Linked DNA regions of Homo sapiens: region 1 is linked to region 2. The links are contacts of gene promoters, found by promoter capture Hi-C in blood cells and fetal thymus (Javierre and others, 2016). All regions are on one chromosome and are shown on one strand. Each heading gives the region's core, a stretch centred on a gene start or on the middle of the fragment in contact. The rest is flanking DNA. Distances are from core to core; before and after follow the strand shown.

What was found. Contacts are between HindIII fragments. The CHiCAGO score rates a contact against its expected background, and 5 or more counts as called.
Region 1: a contact is called between a fragment that was not itself captured here and the fragment with the promoter of RYK in region 2, in 1 of 17 cell types (naive B cells). The highest score is 7.1, in naive B cells.

Annotation. Positions count from the first base shown.
Region 1 is chr3:132,410,543-132,415,734 of GRCh38, forward strand. No RefSeq gene overlaps it. Among named protein-coding and RNA genes, the nearest start is that of DNAJC13, 4.4 kb to the right of the region's middle. The HindIII fragment of the contact is 963 bases long and covers 2,961-3,923 here.
Region 2 is chr3:134,249,123-134,253,936 of GRCh38, forward strand. It overlaps RYK (receptor like tyrosine kinase), which reads right to left and starts at 1,737. Exons shown (of 15, transcript NM_002958.4): 1 at 1,301-1,737. The coding sequence starts at 1,532. RefSeq lists an enhancer at 978-1,756 and a silencer at 1,092-1,911. The HindIII fragment of the contact is 6,752 bases long and covers 1-3,228 here.

The DNA of each region.
Region 1 (5,192 bases), core at 2,192-4,691, 1.8 Mb before region 2:
GATGCCCACAGACAAGCAGCTCTAGCCATCACAACTATGCTCTGGGCACAAAAAAAACGTAAAGGGTGGGGGAAAAAGGACACCTACTAGCTGAATCTGATAGCCCACACCAACAATATCTGCTTATGTTTCATCGGCCAGACTTATGTCATCTCTGATATGGTCAGCCGATCTGAGAGGAGGTTGACGATGTAGTACTTGTAGGTGGCACATTGCCACCTTCAACTTGTAGGGAAGAAGAGGAAAATGATATTGGGTAGGCAATAGTATTTACTCTGGAAATATACAGGGTTTCTAAAACTTAACATGTTCAAACCATACTTTTTTTAAAATTTTACTTTAAGTTCTGGGATACATGCGCTGATGGTTATAGACTTTTTTTAAAAAAACCTTTTTTAAACAAAATTTTAGTTTAAGTTCTGGGATACATGTGCTGAACGTGCAGGTTTGTTGCATAGGTATACATGTGCCATGGTGATTTGCTGCACCTATCAACCTGTCATCTAAGTTTTAAGCTCCGCATGTATTAGGTATTTGTCCTAATGCTCTCTCTCTCCTTTCCCCCGACCCCACAACAGGCCCCAGTGGGTGATGTTCCCCTCCGTGTCTATGTGTTCTCATTTTTCAACTCACACTTATGAGTGTGAACATGCGGTGTTTGGTTTTCTGTTCCTGTGTTAGTTTTCTGAGGATGATGGTTTCCAGCTTCATCCATGTCCCTGCAAAGGACATGAACTCATTCTTTGTTGTGGCTGCATAGTATTCCATGGTATATATGTGCCACATTTTCTTTATCCAGTCTATCATTGATGGGCATTTGGGTTGGTTCCAGGTCTTTCCTATTGTAAATAGTGCTGCAATAAACATATGTGAGCATGTGTCTCTATAGTAGTATGATGTATAATCCTTCAACTCTCAAAGTTTGTCTGACAGGCAGATTAGGAATAGACCCAAAGTAACTTTAACATTTGCAGTGACTAGTATATGTGAGTTTCTTCTATATTAGTAAGATTTTTTTCAAATTGGCTTTGTTAGTATGTGCTTTTTATTTTGGTTTACATTGATTTACTTTTTTTTTTCTCAGACTTCACTGTATAGATTTGAGAACCAATAACTTTACAAGCTAATTAGTTGAGCTTGAAATACTACTTCTTTTATGTTTTATTTTCCTTTACGCTAAGTAGGTGGCTGCCACCTCATTTACTGTTGCTCACAAAAAGAAAAAAAAATCATCTTTTCATTGACAAAATTAAGTTTTACATGGAAATAACAGTCATATCATCTTTATATGCTCAAAGCCAGCAATAATTTGGGTAATGAAGTTTTATGTTCTCAGATAGGCATAATATGAATAAGTTATTATCCAAGATTAATGAATAGATATCCTTTCCTTCTATGTGGTTGCAATGATCTTTAACAAAATTAGTGGGAAAAAAAAGCTTTTGTTGCACCTGATTAACTCACCTTGATTTAGGCGTGAATGAGTCATTGTCATTCTAAGAACTTCCTCATGGTCAAGTTTTGGATCACCATTTTTAAAATATATTGTGACTGTCGAAATTCCATGCATGTAAGACTTTTTTGCATTGTTAACATTCACAGATGAATTGAACAAGTCAACTCTGTGTTCTCCATAATAAATAAAATGAACTATTTAATGATGTCTCATGATAGGAGTATTCAAATATGGTTGTCAAGAATGAACACTTGAACTTTCCCCATTCTGCTAATAATACAGAATATCTGCTTATCTGACATTCTGTATTATTAGCATCTGGTTAGTCCTCTGATGATAACTACAGCAAACCTGTTTCATTTAAAAACGCAAGGACAAGGATTACATAAAGAAGCTGGAGACCCTGATATTAACTATAGTGTGTGCTCAGTAATGAACTGCTCTATATAAGTTATTATCTGTATTATCTTCATCTGGTTAGTCCTCTGATGATAAGAACTACAGCAAACCTGTTTCATTTAAAAACTCAAAGACAAGGATTACATAAACAAGCTGGAGACCCTGATATTAACTATAGTGTGTGCTCAGTAATGAAGTGCTCTACATAAGTTATGTAACTCCTGCAAATGTCTCTCAAGGTAGGTATCAATATCTGAAGTTTACAGAAGAGGGAACTAAGACTCAAAGAGGATAACGAACTTGCCTGTGAGTTTTTTAAACTACATTATATTTCCTTCAAGTGCTGATGACTAAAAATGTCTGAATATAATAATTTCATAGCAGATTGGAAATCTTGTTCACTTCAAAACCCTTTATGGAAAAAACCACATAAGGTTCTTGAGTTTTCTCAAATCTGATAATACAAGAAGTATTTGAATTAATTAGTAAGAACACCTGAATTAGAAAACCCTCAGCAGTGTATATATTGTAAAAGAGCAGTTGTGGTAAAATTTAATAAGGAAAAAGAACACAGGCCTTTTTCTTAACCAGTTAAAATTTCAATAATAGTTTAAAATTGTTAGACCACAGAATAAGTTATTTTCTTTTCCCTCCTCATCCATCTTTGAAAATATAATCAAATCTAGATAATTTCCTGTAATTAAATGAAAGCATGTTTTTGTTAATAAAATATTATAAATTCAAAATCCTTTATATATGAACATCATTATACTATTTAAAAAGATATTTTAATTCACATTAATAATAAAACTAGACTTCCTGGGGTAGGATTAAGTGAGCTGGGGAAGCCAGGCTATCAGTTACAAAAAAAAAAAATTGTGGATCCTATATATATATACAGATACATATGTATATATGTCAAGAAATTCTCATGTCATAATTTGTCATATGTTGTAAATAATTTCAATTATTTGAATTACAGTATAGAGAAACACAGAAAACTAAATACGTGTGGCCAGATAAATCTTGAGAAAAACCACTAAAGACAAACAACCAACCAATCACATAACAAATTAAAATGAAGTCCAGTAGAAGATTCTGTGGAAGCTTCAAGCTCACCAACTCGACGTAGTTGTTTTCTGACACTTACTGTTTGCTTGCACAAGATTTTCTAATAGCAGTATTGTCCAAGAGAAATACAATGGGAGCCATATATTTAATTTTACATTTACTAGTAGCTACATTCCTTAAAAGAAACAAGTGAAATTAATTTTAATAACATTTTATTTAACCAAATATACAGCCATAATATTATCATTTCCACATGTGACAAAGAGTCTTTGCTCAGCCAAATTTTAATCAGGCTTCTGAACCTTTCCTTAGGCCCCTCTGTGTGCTTCCTTGAAAAGTCTAGTCTGCAAAAGAACCTGGCTAAGTCAGTTTAGCCAAAATTCCCTCGATATGTGATCAGATTCCTCATCTTTCACCTTCCCCCAGAAGATGTCTAATCACTCTGGCCTGTCTTTAGCAAGAATCCTGTTACGTAGGTTTAGCCAGGATCCCCGCTCACCCCTGATGTTTTCTCTTAGTAATTTTCCATCCACTGACCCCCACACACTGTTCCTTGGAGATAAATGCATACTTGCCCGTGTCGTTTTCCGACCTGAGCCCCGTCTCTCTCCCTTACTGCAAGCCCCTGTTGCAGTGGCTCCTGTACCTATTGTAATGATCGTAAATAAACTGAATAAAATCTTTTTTGTGGGGAGCAGGGGGTACAGGGTCTTTCTCTGCTGCCCAGGCAGGAGTGCAGTGGCACAATTATAGCTCACTGTAACCTCGAACTCCTGGGCTCAAGAGATCCTCTCACCTCAGCCTCCTGAGTAACTAGCACTACAGGGGCATGCCCCCATGCCCAGATAATGCTTTTATTTTTATTATTTTGTAGCAATGGGGTCCCACTACATTGCATAGGCTGGTCTCAAACTCCTGGCCTCAAGTGATCCTCCTGACTTGGCCTCCCAAAGCCTTGGGATTACAGGTGTCAGCCATCATGCTCAGCCTATTACCAAGCTTTAACAAGTATCATTAAATAATACTTTTTTTTTTTTTGAGAGTTTCACTCTTGTTGCCCAGGCTGGAGTGCAGTGGCACCATCTCGGCTCACTGCAACCTCCCCCTCCCAGGTTCAAGTGATTCTCCTGCCTCAGCATCCCGAATAGCTGGGATTACAGGTATGCACCACCAGGCCCGCCTAATTTTTTTATATTTAGTAGAGACGGGGTTTCATCATGTTGGCCAAGCTGGTCTCAAACTCCTGACCTCAGGTGATCCACCCGCCTCAGCCTCCCAAAGTGCTGGGACTACAGGCGTGAGCCACCGTGCCCGGCCTAAATATTTTTTTCTTTTAACACGTGTAATCAATATAAAAATTGCTAATGCAACATTTTACATTTTTTTGTAACAATTTTAATTTTTATTCTGTGTTCAGTAGCCACATAGGGCTAGTGGCTACTGTACTGAAAACATAGTTCAAGCATTGTTGAGTGGTATGAGTTCTTAAGGATTTACTTTGGATCTGGGCATTGATATAATTAGGAAGGTCAATTTAGCAGCAATGGGAATTAGATAAGCAAGTGTTTGACATTCTTGTGGGCTCTCTAAAGTCTTAGATCACTCCAGCCTTGTATGCTAACTTTGGAGACTGATAAAGGCTATTGGTGCCTAAAAGGCTGTGAAATGTATTTTTTAAAAAGCTGTGAAATATTTTAAGTGTACATCACATAATTTAGATTGTAAATTTGATACATCTGCACTATGAAAGTGTCAGAAACGCTAGTGCAAACTTTAATTATGAATAAAAAGACAAATCCAGAAAAAGAAGTGTGCATTTGTCACTCTTAAAAAAGAGTTGGGTGGGGAAAGGATCCAACTGATTTAACCTAATAGGGAAAGAAGAGACAAGTCCTACTCTCCCTGACTCTTGTATTTTGTTGTGGCATTTTAAGAAGGATCCAATTGTATGGATCCAATTAAAAGCAACCAGTGGTTGTGAAAAGGCTTGAAACTACATCTTGTGAACAATGGTTGAAAGTACTTTGAATATGGTTTCTTAAAATGAGTATCTGTAGCAGGGGTAGTTAGAAGGATATGCACGGGAGAGGGAGTGGGAAAGGGTGATAAGCTGTACTGATAAGTGCTTAAATGAATGTCACATACAAGAAGAAAAGAGCAAGAAACAAAGACAAAATAACTACTCATAGAAGAGAGTGCAAGTTGGCTGAATACAAGGAAAATGGCTTATAAAAATGCAATGGAAAAAGATGTCTTGTGAGGCAAT
Region 2 (4,814 bases), core at 487-2,986:
ATTATTTTTCCTAAATCTTAGTCTTGTGTTCCAAGTACTACCCCAAGTAGAGTTTTAATTCAGCTAAACTACATTCAGCTAACTCAGCTAGACTAAGAAGGATTAAGAATGAGCACGACTTCATAAAAAGAGCATTCTTCTTTGGCTAAAAACTGCAAATCCGTACATGTAATGTCTAAAGAGTCTGCTTTCAGTAATTCCATTTCTACACTGAGTCAATCTCAACACACCTCAACAAAGTCTTATTACTTAAAAAAAAATAGAATACTGACAAATAATGGATGCAATAGAGAATAATTTTTCCCCTCAAACACTCAGAAGCACCACCTTCAGATGAAATAAAGATACTGCCATAATAACAAAAGAATGCAAACGTCTAGGTACCAAGGACTTCCTTTTTGGGGGGTCGTTCCTGTCAGATCTTCCTCTAAGGGGTCATTTCCAGAATCCACAAAGTCCTAACATAAGACCCCAGCAATTTTTCAAATTAATTCCCCAAACAACAAAGCTAAGCAAGTAAATGGAACCACAAACCGACCCAAGACTAAGTTCTTGTTTCCCTTCAAGATACTCAAAAGTAGGAGAGTGGCCCAGAAGTACAGAGTCAGTCCAAACTCCCAACACACCCAATGCAAAAACCAAAAAGGTATTGAAACTAAAAAGGTCTGCTACCTGGCGATTCATTCACTAAAAATATGCTTAGAATCTAAGCATATGCTCCAAATCTACGTCCCAAGAGTTGGAGGCTGCCACGAACATTTGGTGCCCTTATAACCTCCCCTTCTTTCTCTCTCGTTTTTTTTTTTTTTTTTTTTTTTTTTGTAAAAGGGTAAGCACAGAGCGTGGCCTCTACTGGAGCATCAAAACCACAGCAAAGGGTTTGCAAGTTCAGTCTAAAACGTGAATTTCGAGATATTCAAAATCGAGGGCCCTAGAGTGACACACATAGAAAGCGTCAAAAAAACTTCGTGCAGCAAGGAAAAAAAGTTGTAAGGGTGACTGACTCTTCTAGGGAGAAGGGCTAAGGAGGCAGTGAGGAGGATGGGATGGGGTGAATCTGGGTCTATCGCGGCGGGGCAGCGAGGGCGGCACGAAGGCTGACCCAGAGCTGGGGACCGGGCAGGGACCACACCTCCCAGCCAGCACGGCAGGCAGAGACCGGGCCGCGAGGCGAATCCGGGCGCGGGGGGCGGGGAGGGTACTCGCCCGAGGTCCACGGCTCGCAGACTGATCCGCCGGCGGCCGGAAGCTGCCCCAGCCGGCCCGACCTGCCCGCCCCGGCCTCGGCGGCCCCACTCACCGATCAGCCGGCGCACCTCGTCCTCGCTCAGGTAGAGACTCACGCTGGGCCCCGCGGAAGCCGACTGCAGCTCCGGGGGCCGCGGGGCGGGGGCGGCGGCAGCGCCAGGCGCGGGCAGCAGCGGCAACAGCGCAAGCAGAAGCAGCAGCGGCGGCGGCGGCGGGGCCCTCAGGCCGCGGGCCCCCGGGAGGCAACTCCGGCCCGGCCGCCCCAGCCGCGCCGCCCCACGCATGGCCGCCGCCGCCGCCGCCGAAGAGGAGCGTCGGCCGCCCGCCGCACCGCCGCCCACCCCCGGCCCCGAGCCGCTCACAGCCCCGAGCCGGGGGCGGCTGCCCAGCTCATCGCACCGCCGGCCCGTGGCAGCCAGCAGTGGCTTCAGACCTCCGGAGCGCGCCGCCGCCGCCGCCTCCTCGCTGCATCGTCCGGAGTTGGGGGCTGCCCGCGGGACGCGCCCGTGCGCGCCGCCGCCTCCCCGGGAGCGCGCACGCACCTTTCGCTCTGGGCGGGCCGGCCTGGGCAACGCGCTGGGGTTTTAAAGTGCCTCGGCGGGCGAAGGGCTCGGGTCACCCTCTCCGCAAGAGCCGGTCCCCGCCCCACGCGGTCACTGCGTCTAATGTTTGCTTGTCTATTGTCTGTAACCCTCCTTTCCCGACGGACGGGCCAGGCTGGAGCCACCGGCCGCGCCTGCAGCTCAGTGGGCGCCCCAGGTCCCCGGAAACGCCTGGATGCGGCCGTTCTGGTTGCGAAAAAGCAGCATGCTTTCCTGTTTAGTGGGAAAACTCAAATAAATAGAAATCATCCTTTATCTTACCATCGGTGATCAACTTTATCGTTTCCGTATCTATTATTAGAATTTATACTACATATATTTGTTTTCCAGAAAGATCTTAGCACGCTTTACTAACCCTATTTTTACGTTACAAAATTTTATTTATTTTTATATTTTTATTTATTTATTTTGAGACGAAGTCTTGCTCCGTCACCCAAGCTGGAGTGCACTGGCACGATCTCGGCTCACTGCAACCTCTGCCTCCTAGGTTCAAGCCATTCTCCTGCCTCAGCCTCCCGAGTAGCTGGGATTACAGGCGCCCGCAACCATGCCCGACTAATTTTTTTGTATTTTTAGTAGAGACGGGGTTTCACCATGTTGGCCGGGTTGGTCTCGAACTCCTGACCTCACGTGATCAACTGACCTCGGCCTCCCAAAGTGCTGGGATTACAGGTGTAAGCCACCGCGCCCTGCCAAATTGTTATTTTTTTTATAATCGTTCTGCATCACTATAATCAACCTGCCTTTGGGGTTGTTAATCTGTGGTCCATACCAGGCTTCGACAGCCTTCCAATAATATGAAACTGTGTGCAAAAGTGTATGTGTCTCCGTGCGTATTTGTGTCCACGTCCATGTTTCTGTGTGTTGTGTGTATGCTTGATTGCACACAGAGAGGTGGTATGTCATCATTTGTTCTAGGGAGTCCTTGTGCCCTCAAAGAGGTTAAGAACTGCAGATAGACCTCGTGTACTTAAAGGCGGTGGAGCCAGCCAGTGCATGGACTTCCGGGCCTCCTGATGTATTTTTGTGAGCCGCCCACCATCGCGGTCAAACTTGCACCAGTGCCCCCTCTCTTGGTGAGGCTCCAAGGGCCCCTGCCCTGTCCTGGGACACCTCGTCCCTGCGGACAGGCCCCCGTCCTGACCCCAAGGCTCTCGCGGGGCCGTGCCTCGGGGAGCAGCTGCTCTGACAGCTAGGCCTGGCTTCGGGGCACAGTTGCTCCATCGCAGTGAGGCCCTGGGAAGCGGTTATTTTTATCCTCAGGGAAGGGTAGGGAAAAGGAGAGGCTGATAAGGAGGGAAGTGCTGGAACTTGATTTTCTCCCTCCCTAGCAAGATACACGGATTCCATTTAGAGATAGGCTGGCCTCAATTTGTCAAGCTTCAGCGCCTCAGCACAAAATCTTACACCCTTCATCCTGCCGGAGGAGGCTGAGAAGAGGAAGAGGGGAGGAAAAGTGCTCCATCAGAGAAGGCTTTTAAGCCACAAAAGTCAGCAAAAATACTTCTGTTGGGACAGCCACTGCTACCAGGGTTCTGCCAGGAAGGGCTGGAGGCTCAAAACATGTTGTGTGAACAGGAATCTCAATTCAGATGGGAAGCATTTTTTTAAAGGATGGCATATTCTTTGCACTTTTAAAAAAGCTCACAGTCCTCAAAGAATGAAACTCCTAGCTTCTCGAGGTTCTTTAATTACTAGGTCTTGTCAGTGACTTCTTCAGGCGGCCTATGATGTAAACAGCAGAGAGCTCCCACTCAGGCCTGGCTGGGTTCTGGTACTTGTTAATCCTGTGGTCTTGGGAAAATTAAACTCTCCAAGCCTTGGTTCTCTCATTCATAAAAATCCCGGGATAATGCCCGACTCCCAGGGCTTTTACAGGATTTAATTGGAGAGGGATACAAGTAAAACATCTAGGCAGACGCTGGGTAGGTGTCACACCTGTTGTTATTGTAATTACAAGGAATCCTTTCCCTTTAATGACCACTTCCTGTGAAAGTTTCATCACCAGTTACCTCCAAACAGTTCAAACCTGGGACCCTCATGAACCTCATTCAATAGCACTGAGCCTGGCCCAGAGCCTGAGCTCGATGAAGACTCGTGCCAGGCATCACGCTAGGCACTGGGGACACAGGAGCGAGCAATGTGCTTCCTTGAGAACTTTGATAAACAAATGTTTTCATAAATTCTACAAAGACAAGTTCTCAAAGTGTGGCCCCCAGACCAGCAGTATCATCACCTGGGAACTTGTAATGTAAATTCCTTGGACACTGCCCATACTAACAGGTAGCAGCTCCAGGGCTGGGGCCCAACAATCTGTTTTCCCAAGCCTCCTGGTAATTCTGATGCTGCTGGTCACTCCATTAATATCTCAGCTCTCCTGTCTCTCTTTTGGTCAGCTGCAGTTGCCTGCTTTCTCCCTTACTCGCTCAGTCTGTTCCCAACACAGCAGACAGAGGCATTCTGTTAAACGTCAGCCTGATCATGTACTCTCTGGCTTTCAGACCACCAGTGGTTCCCCAACTCACCTAGAATAAAAGGCAAAGTCTTTCCAAGATGTCAAGGTAGTTCTCACTCTCCACCTTTCTCCCTTCCCTCTGACCTTATCTTCTGCTCACCGCCTACTCCCTTAGTTCCTGCCACACCACAAAGGCTTCCTTTCTGTTCTTCCAACAAACCAGACACAATCCTACCTCAGGGCCTTTGCACTGCTGTTCCCTGTCTCTGGAATGCTTCTGTCTGACACCCACATGGCTTCATCTCTTACCTCCTTCAAATCTATGCTCAGATGTTAACTTCTGAATAAGATTGCAAACTTCCCCACACTTTAATTAAACCCTTGGAGAAGGAATTGATTCCCAGTCTCTCTCTTGCTGTCTCTGCATGACACTTGGTCTCACACAAAGGTCTTCCCACAATCCCCAGCCCATCCTGAAGAGGAAGTTTCCTCTCCCTCCCCTAACAAGG